3 separate regions of the Homo sapiens genome follow, and regions 1 and 3 are each linked to region 2. Evidence: promoter capture Hi-C in 16 types of primary human blood cells and fetal thymus (Javierre and others, 2016). All regions are on one chromosome and are shown on one strand. Each heading gives the region's core, a stretch centred on a gene start or on the middle of the fragment in contact. The rest is flanking DNA. Distances are from core to core; before and after follow the strand shown.

Evidence for each region. The method cuts DNA at HindIII sites, captures the fragments that hold promoters and counts their contacts. A CHiCAGO score of 5 or more calls a contact.
Region 1: a fragment that was not itself captured here is called in contact with the fragment with the promoter of CCDC122 in region 2 in 1 of 17 cell types (monocytes); the score reaches 6.8 in monocytes.
Region 3: a fragment that was not itself captured here is called in contact with the fragment with the promoter of CCDC122 in region 2 in 2 of 17 cell types (monocytes and total B cells); the score reaches 5.5 in monocytes.

What each region holds. Positions count from the first base shown.
Region 1 is chr13:44,994,272-44,997,149 of GRCh38, forward strand. The region is part of intron 1 of GPALPP1 (GPALPP motifs containing 1); the gene reads left to right. Among named protein-coding and RNA genes, the nearest start is that of GPALPP1, 6.2 kb to the left of the region's middle. The HindIII fragment of the contact is 5,076 bases long and covers 1-2,878 here.
Region 2 is chr13:43,878,229-43,881,209 of GRCh38, forward strand. It overlaps CCDC122 (coiled-coil domain containing 122), which reads right to left and starts at 1,512. Exons shown (of 7, transcript NM_144974.5): 1 at 1,403-1,512. LACC1 (laccase domain containing 1) reads left to right here and starts at 1,676. Exons shown (of 7, transcript NM_153218.4): 1 at 1,676-1,891; 2 at 2,724-2,981. The coding sequence starts at 2,758. RefSeq lists a silencer at 1,414-1,563. The HindIII fragment of the contact is 5,095 bases long and covers 1-2,981 here.
Region 3 is chr13:44,968,391-44,971,479 of GRCh38, forward strand. The region is part of intron 5 of NUFIP1 (nuclear FMR1 interacting protein 1); the gene reads right to left. Among named protein-coding and RNA genes, the nearest start is that of NUFIP1, 20 kb to the right of the region's middle. The HindIII fragment of the contact is 948 bases long and covers 1,068-2,015 here.

The sequences.
Region 1 (2,878 bases), core at 109-2,608, 1.1 Mb after region 2:
TCTAATTTCTTAAAAAAATGCCCTCTCGCGGCCGGGCACGGTGGCTCACGCCTGTAATCCCAGCACTTTGGGAGGCCGAGGCGGGCGGATCACCTGAGGTCAGGAATTCGAGACCAGCCTCAACGTGGAGAAACCCCGTCTCTACTAAAAAAATACAAAAATTACCCAGGTGTGGTGGTGCATGCCTGTAATCCCAGCTACTCGGGAGGCTGAGGCAGGAGAATTGAATTACCTGGTCTTCTCTGTTCCTGCTGCCTACCATGTCCCATCCTACCTTGAAGTCTTCATACATGTTGTTCCCTCAGTTTGAGTGCTTCCTCCCATCCCTTAGTTTCGTTCGTTTTGCTAGTTTTCAGAGCTCAGTACAAAACTTCATCTTGGGATTCAGGTGTTATGGGCCTCCTCACGTGATAAACATAAAGTCACACAGTTTTCCAAAATACATGGTTTTCATAATAAAAGTATTCTTGAAATTATTTATTCGTGGTTTTTTGTTGTTGTTGTTGATTTAGGGTCATTGTTCAGAATATCACATTATATATATCGTTAGATAATTAGAAATGTGAGGCATTGGAGAGAGAGCATTTTATTTTTTTTTTGAGACGGAGTTTCGCTCTTGTTGCCCAGGCTGGAGTGCAATGGCACAATCTCGGCTCACCACAACCTCCGCCTCCTGGGTTCAAGCTATTCTCCTGCCTCAGCCTCCTAAGTAGCTGGGATACAGGCGTGCACCACCACACCTAACTAATTTTGTATTTTTAGTAGAGAGAGGGTTTCTCCATGTTGGTCAGGCTGGTCTTGAACTCCCGACCTCAGGTGATCCTCTCGCTTTGGCCTCCCAAAGTGCTGGGATTACAGGCGTGAGCCACTGCACCCAGACACAAGCCCCTATCTTTAAACACACACACACACACACACACACACACACACACCCCTTCTCTTTTGGTTTCTATGATACCATACTCCCCTCATTTTTGTCTCCTCTTTGGGCAGCTCCTCTTCATCTCGAATAGTTTATCTTCAATTAAACCTTCAGGTGTTAAAGATTCTGAAAGCTGACTCCTAAGCCCTCTTTTTTTTTAATACTCTATTCTCTCTTTTAAGTGATGATATTCCCACCCATGGGGTGAAGGTTTTTATATAAGAACTTAGATGCTTATCTAACATCTTTGTTTAATGATTCCCAGTGAGAGTTCCTATCAGAATCTTTAAAAAAGGAGATGAACTTCTAAAAAAAATCTTTCAATGTTCTAGCCAGTCTCTTCTTTCCTCCCCTGACAGGATTTTAAAGTATTCCAAGTTCAGGAGCAAAGACTAAATTACCCCCTAAGTCCCTGGGACTGTCCCAGTTTTAGCACTAAAAATCCCACATCCCAAGAAGCCCTTCAATCCCAAGCAAACCAGCACAATTGGTCACCCTATTTCTGTCTTCTGTAGCAGTGCACCTTAAACTTGAACATGCACATGGATTACCCAGAGATCTTGTTAAGATGCCAACTCTGATTCAGGTGATCTGGGTGAGGCCTGAGATTCTGCATTTCTGACAAGCTCCCAGCTGCTGCTGCTGCTGCTGGTCCTGCTGGTGCCAAGACCACAGTGTTTGTGGTGAGGGATGGGAGCACACGTGGCTTTCTCTATCTGTAGTTATTGTGCTGGATTGTTTGCTGGTTTGCCCCACTAAACCATGAGGAAAGGAACCACGTCCTAAGCCTCTGTAATCCCCAATACTAGCAGGGTACCCAGCACAAAGTGGGTACTCAGTAGATTCCTTTTGGCGGAGTAGAGGACAGTAAAAATTCCTGGTCAGGCGCAGTGGCTCATGCCTATAATCCCAGCACTTTGGGAGGCTAAGGTGGGAGGATCACTTGAGCCCAGGACTTCAAGAACAGCCTAGGCAACATAGTAAGACCTCATCTCTACTAAAAATTTAAAAATTAGCCAGGCATGGTAGCATGCACATGCAGTCTCAACTACTTGGGGGGCTGAGGCAAGAGGATTGCTTGAGCCCAGGAGTTTGAGGTTGCAGTGAGCTGTGATCACACCACCGCACTCCAGCCTGAGTGTTAAAACAAGACCTTGTCGCAAAAAAAAAAAAAAATTCCTTAAGAGGGGCCCAGGATTTATGGGGGTTGGAGAAGCCAGGACCTGCATGAATACAGCTAACCATAATCCTTTGTATGGAGTCTGGAAGAAACCTAATGGCTGGCTGGGAACGGGATTTTTTTTTTTTTTTAAACAGCATCTCACTGTCATCCTGGCTGGAGTGCAGTGGCATGATCTCAGCTTACTGCAACCTCTGCCTCCTGGTTCAAGTGATTCTCCTGCCTCAGCCTCCTGACTAGCTGAAATTACGGGGATGCACCCTCACATCTGGCTAATTTTTGTATTTTTAGTAGAGATGGGGTTTCACCATGTTGGCCAGACTGGTCTGGAACTCCTGGGCTCAAGTGATCCATCTGCCTCAGCCTCCCAAAGTACTGGGATTACAGGCGTGAGCCACTGTGCCCAGCCTCTTTTTTTTTTTTTTTTTTTTTTTTTCCAGTTTTTAAAAATTGTGATAAAATACACATAACATGAAATGTACCATCTTAACCATCTTTAAATGTACAGTTCAGTGGCATTAAATACATTCAGATGATTGAGCAACTATTACCAACATATCCACATCTCTTTTCATCTTGTAAAACAGAAACTCTGTACTCACTAAGTAATAACTCCTCATTCCCCCCTCCAGCTCCTGACAAGCACCATTCTACTTTCTGTCTCTATGATTTGACTACTTTAAGTACATCATTTGAGTGGAATCATACAGTATTTGTCTTTTTTTTTTTTTTGGACTGGCTTATTTCACTTAGCATAATGTCCTTAAGTTTCATCC
Region 2 (2,981 bases), core at 262-2,761:
AAAGTAATTGTGGTCTTTGTCAATGGCAAAAACCGCAATTACCTTTGCACCAATCTAATGATATTTAACATAAACAAACTCAGGGCAGAGTGCACCTTCTGATTGGGTGTACCATCTACCGCTCGGGGCTCTTTAACAAATGACCAAAGAAAACATGAATTTTGACATAACTGGTGCTAGGGTTATTGAAGGGTGGGTTTCCATTCTGGGTTAGTGCTCCCAGTCTCTAGTCAAGCACAAGAACATGCCTACCCCAGAGGGCTCTTCCAAATTCCCAGCTATCTGAGATTATGAGACAAAGGTTCTTTAGCGCCTACCAAATGAGCAACAATGAAGATAAAAGGGACCTCTCCTTCCATCATAACCAGTTCCCCAGGAAGCACCATTTCTCTTACTCTTGGAAGGTCGGATATTTTTTCCCTTTACCATACACTGGCCTTCCATGTCCTAACTGCTATTTTCAAATAAATGAACGTTATATTCTTGGAGGACAGATCAGGGATGCTAAACTGCACCTTTATCATGATTTTAGGGATGAGCGCCTTTTACTTAAGTCCTGCTAGTGGCACATATTTTAAAAGGCCATAGAGGACATCCGTGTTGTCAACACAAGTGAAGGCGCTCGGAAGAGTGTTGGTCAGCAAGAATCAGCACAAAGACATTGGAGGAGAGACAACAGCTTGTTTCTGGAAACAAATGAACAACAAAAAAACACTAAAACATCTCGAGGGGGCCCCTGACTTGAGCCCTGCATGGGAAAAGCTGCCAAGAGCTAGCATGACAAGGGACTGGCCCTGGGCTGCGGTGAGGAAACCCAGCGTCCTGACCACACTGCTGGGTCAGCGAGGCGTCCCTCAGAGACCGGAAACGCGGACTTCAGCTCGCTTGGGAAACGGCTTCCATTAGCAGAAGGGAGACTGCGGTTTAGTCCCGAGGTCGCTCCAGCAGCCCGGCCTCACGCGACCCACCATTCCCGCCGCCCCCTCACGGTGCCCGCCGTTCCCGCCGCCCGGCTTTCTAACCGGGCCCCTAGTTCCCCGCCCCGTGCCCTCTGGAGACCTGCAGCTCCTGCCGCCCTGCGCCCGCTCCCAGGGCCCGTCGTTCCGCCGCCCTATCCCTCCTCAAGGGGCCCCTAGCTGCCTCCTCGCGACCCTTTCCGGACTCGGCCTGCCCACTCCTGCCCGCTAACCCGCCTGGCTCCCGGGCGAGAGCCCTCGCGCGGCTCTGGTTCCTGTTCCTCTAACGCCGCCGGGGCTGCGGGATGCCGACTCCGCGGACCGCCCAGACCCGGAACTGCTGAGGCAGCAGCGGGCTCGCGGCGCTTGGCTCATCCCGGGATTCCCCAGCTCTCGCGCTGGGCCCGCCGCGTTCGCACCAAGCACGCCAGGCGGCCCTGGCCTACCTCCCTCCCGCCTCCCGGCAGCTGGCACGAGGGAACCTGGCCGTCAGGTTTCCCCTGGGATCCTGGGACGGTATCAGGCGGGGAATCTGTGCGGCCGCGGCGAGGTAGGTGAGGTGAGGCGGGGCGAGGTGGGCGAGGGGGGCGAGGTGAGGCGGGGCGAGGCGGGGCGAGGCGAGGCGGGGCGAGGTGGGCGAGGTGGGCGAGGTGAGGCGGGGCGGGTGTCGTCGCGCTGGGCCGAGCTTACGACTCCAGCTGACCCGCTCGCGGCTGCCCAATTTCGTTGAGGCTCAGGACGAGGGACGGGGCGGCAAATTGTCACAGAGGTCGCCGTAGACCGGTGTGCAACCGAAGGTGAAGAGCGGGAAGGCGAGGACCGAATCGCCTCTGGTGTGCGTTGTCCGACAGGAAGTCCCGAATGGGCTGTGAGCCGCCGGTGGAGGTGCCCGGGCAGGTGCAGAGCCACAGCCTGCGCCCCGTGAGCCGAGGCGGGTAGGAGGAACAGGGACCTGGCGGCGACACACGTTGGGCGGAAATTCACAATGAACAGGGAAGGGGGGACGGTCACCCACTCAAAACTGGCTAAATGAACCTCAGAGGGAGCCCCGAGAGATGGGGAGCAAAGGTTAGGGGAAGCGGCAGGAGAAAACCTTCTTGGGGCAAAGGGCGTCACCAAAGGGGGTCACCGGAGCCCCGCAGGTTGGGGTGGGAGGGCTGGGCTGGAGGTGAGCAAAGCTGCACGGGGAGAATGAATTAAGAAAGTTGAGAGGAAGCCTGTCTCATCCAAATCACTATAGCTTTTGTGGTCATTGCTAAGTGTGGAGTACTGCGCAAATCCTGAAGGGAACTCTATTAGCCATCTCAGCTTTTATCATCTTAAAACGCGAATTTCGCGTGCAGCTCCATTTAGCTTCGTAAACTTAAGCCCCCGCATATGAAAGGATGAGACCTAATATGACAATCATGTCAGGACTAATGATATATCACACAGGTTGACACTCTGCAATTTAAAAACAGGACTTTGTCTAAACTCCACAAGTAATTCCTTACTCAAAAGTTCTGTGTAAACAAAACAGAGGAACTGTCGTGCTGCTGGAAAGATGTACCAGCATTTTCACAAAACGAATTAAAAGATGGCTTTGCTTTCACTGTCATGGTTCTGTTGTGACAGAGTAGACTGGCTTTTCTGGGAGGGGCCTAGATTTACTATTTTAGTTACATTTTAAAATCAGTGTAATTACTTCGTTTTTAATCTACCACAAATTTCTGTTGTAACTATAAGATTTATATAATCTTATATTCTTACACTAATTTTTATTTGCAGGTGATTTATTTGGCATAAAAGTATTCTTTCAAGGATGGCAGAAGCTGTTTTGATTGATCTTTTTGGTTTGAAATTGAACTCTCAAAAAAACTGCCATCAGACATTACTGAAGACTTTGAATGCTGTCCAATACCACCATGCTGCCAAGGCCAAGTTTCTCTGTATAATGTGTTGCAGTAACATCAGCTATGAAAGGGATGGAGAACAAGATAATTGTGAAATAGAAACAAGCAATGGATTATCAGCTCTCTTGGAAGA
Region 3 (3,089 bases), core at 292-2,791, 1.1 Mb after region 2:
AAGGAACACTGAGAAGAAAAAAAAAAAAAAAAGACTTGGAAGGGATTCAGAAGAGACTCAAAGATGATTAATAGGATGAAAAATAAAACCTCCAAAGAAAGATGAAAGGAACTATTTGCAACCTTTAAAAGAAGATGAGAAGCGACAATAAAAATAGTTTTACAGAGAGGATGGTCCAGTTGTTCTCAAACTGAAGAGAATATGCAGAAGTAGAAATGAGAAAAACAGTAATGATTTTTACAGGCCTCACAGTGGCGAGACATGTAACTCACAGCTACTCAACACCCTCCACAATTCTCAAATTTACTTATTACTTAAGTTTCTTCAACATTTTTGCAGAGTATTGCAGACTCTTACCATGTTGGGCTATATGTTACATGATAAAATTTGGCACTACAGTGTACTACGTACCAGAGAGCAGATGCTAGGTAACTGCTTTTCATTGGTAAAGAATTTAAACTTGTTATAGCAAGTGGATTTTAGGTAAGATATAAGAAAGAGTTCCCTAAGTGAAACATCAAAGATGTGATGTGTAGAAACTCCTTTGATGGAAGCCTTTTAAAACAGCTAATTTTCTCTTTCAGGCAGACTGCAGTATCATGTTCCTAAAGGTAAAGAAACTTAACTTCCTAAAATTAAATATCATGTTCCTAAAGGTAAGGAAACTTGTCTTCCTAAAATTAAGTATCATGTTCCTAAAAGTAAGATTAGAGTTTTAAAAAGTTGTAAGATTTTATTTTTCTTGGTGCTGAAATCAATAAAATCCTCTTCCAAAATTTATTACATTCTTATTTACACAGAATCCAGATATTTAAAACTAGAGAGAAAAATGGTTGCTAAAAAGCACATTATCGCAAAAAAGAAAAATCAGAAACACAAGACCTAATTACACACATAAACAACAGTAGGAAGCCCCACTCCACCAACATGAAGCTGAGATAAATGAATAACGAAAAAAAAGGAGTTCTGATGAAGGAGTTCAGGTTCCTAAAGTACAAGAAATAACAAATCCAAAGACTATTGAAAAAACATAAATTATGTCTTACATTGCAGTTACATACATGTAAAGCTTAGTCCAATATCTCCTGTTAGAGAATGGATAATATGAAGTTATAAAGACCGTGACAAGGGAAATTTTCACAGTTGGTTTTTCTATATTTTTATCTACTAAAATCATTTTCTCCCTGTACTTCTATCTTTCCTCAGTTCACTAAGAGGAAATGGTCCTGAAACTATGCTCTTTTCCTTCCTCTCTTCTTTCATTTTTTACCTCTTCTTCACCTTCCTCATTGCCTATACCTTATGCCTCCAGTGACAATCTTTAAGCACTACAGAGCCAACACATGGGCAAACCGTCCTAACCATTATCTTAGCACAGACCATTCTGGTCACATTATTCTCTCCAATTTTTTCCTTATGCTCAAATCACGACCCATTTATTGGCTTTTCCCCTCTGCCTGTTCTATAAAACATAGTTACTCTTCCCACTCTCATTAAACCACAACTGCTTCCACACAAGCTACACTATTGTACTTTTCTTTCTGAACATCAAAAAGATACAGCATTCTTTAGAGCAGATCTCCTGTGTTGGAATTCTGCATGAACCAGGGAAACAAAAGGATTTCCTCAGAGCCACAGTAAGCGTTGAAATAAATTGTAAAACTACTCCACCTAGTGGACTCCCAGTCTGCTGTGAAAAATGTTCCACTGTTTCTATAATAAAAGCAAGGTTTTGGAAACAAACCTCTACCACTCATTTTCCCTAAAGCCAAATCATACAGCATTGGTACTACATAGGACAGGAATTAAGAAAGAATAACTTTTTTTGGTGGCTTTTTTGGGGAGGTAGGGGAAAGGCTATTAATGGAAAGCCTTAAAAGTTATTAAATTAAATACACTCGGTACCCCTGAGTCTGACTAACCTGAAAAATACAGAGATGTAGAAGTAAGGACAAAGATGTACTTTTGTCAAAGATAAGGAAGCCATATGCCAAGCAAACCTTCAGTTTTCTTTAAGCTTTAAAATTCTTACTCTGTGAAATCTTTCACAAGCTTTTCCTAACAGAGCAACTACATAAAGACCTTATTTTTCCTGCATGTCAAAGAATATAGTGGCTTCATCGGAAAGAATGTAGCTCTCACACAAAGATCAAATTCATGAAATAAGGACTATTCTGCCACACCAATGTGGAACTTACTCTTTTTAGGAGTTCAAGTAATATTTTTTAAAAATTGAGAATGACAGGAATGTAGAAAGTAAGTATATTTTTGTAACAGGGTTTTTTTGTTTGTTGTTTTTTTATTGAGACAGTCTCACTCTGTTGCCCAGGCTGGAGTACAGTGGCACGACCTTGGCTCACTGCAGTCTCTGCCTTCTGGGTTCAAGCAATTCTCCTGCCTCAGCCTCCCAAGTATCTGGGATTACAGGTGCGTGCCACGATGCCCAGCTAATTTTTTTTATTTTTAGTAGAGATAGGGTTTCGCCATGTTGGCCAGGCTGGTCTCAAACTCCTGACCCCAAGTGATCTGCCTGCCTTGGCCTCCCAAAGGGCTGGGATTACAGGTGTGAGCCACCACGCCCGGCCCATAATAGGTTTTTAAAAAATTGCTAGTGGGGATAGTATTTATGCATTTTTGAGAAATCTATCAAACATACCAAAAGAAAAGCAGTATTTCCCATATCCTCTAATAAAATATACATACAGAAAAAATATATATGAACTCTTCAGAATATATTAAAGAGCAAGAACCTGAGAAACAAACTATGGAAGAACCTCAGATGAACTCACCCAGTGCCCAAAGAATTTTCAGAGCACTTACTAAACAAAGCAACATCACAGGTATAAATAAACTTCATCCAAAATTGCCATCTTCACCCCATTTCCTCATTCTCTTTAAACACCTCTAAATTTCACAAACCTATAACCTCACTTATTCCCTCAACAGATTTTGCCCATTCCTCTTCCAAGGCACTTCTGCCTGCTGTCATAGCATACCTCTGGAAACCAGAGCTAGACTCTATCCCCTCAGCCCCCACCTGTCCTACATAAAAAGAGCCACCAGCAAGCCTATTAAATGCTTGCTCAAAC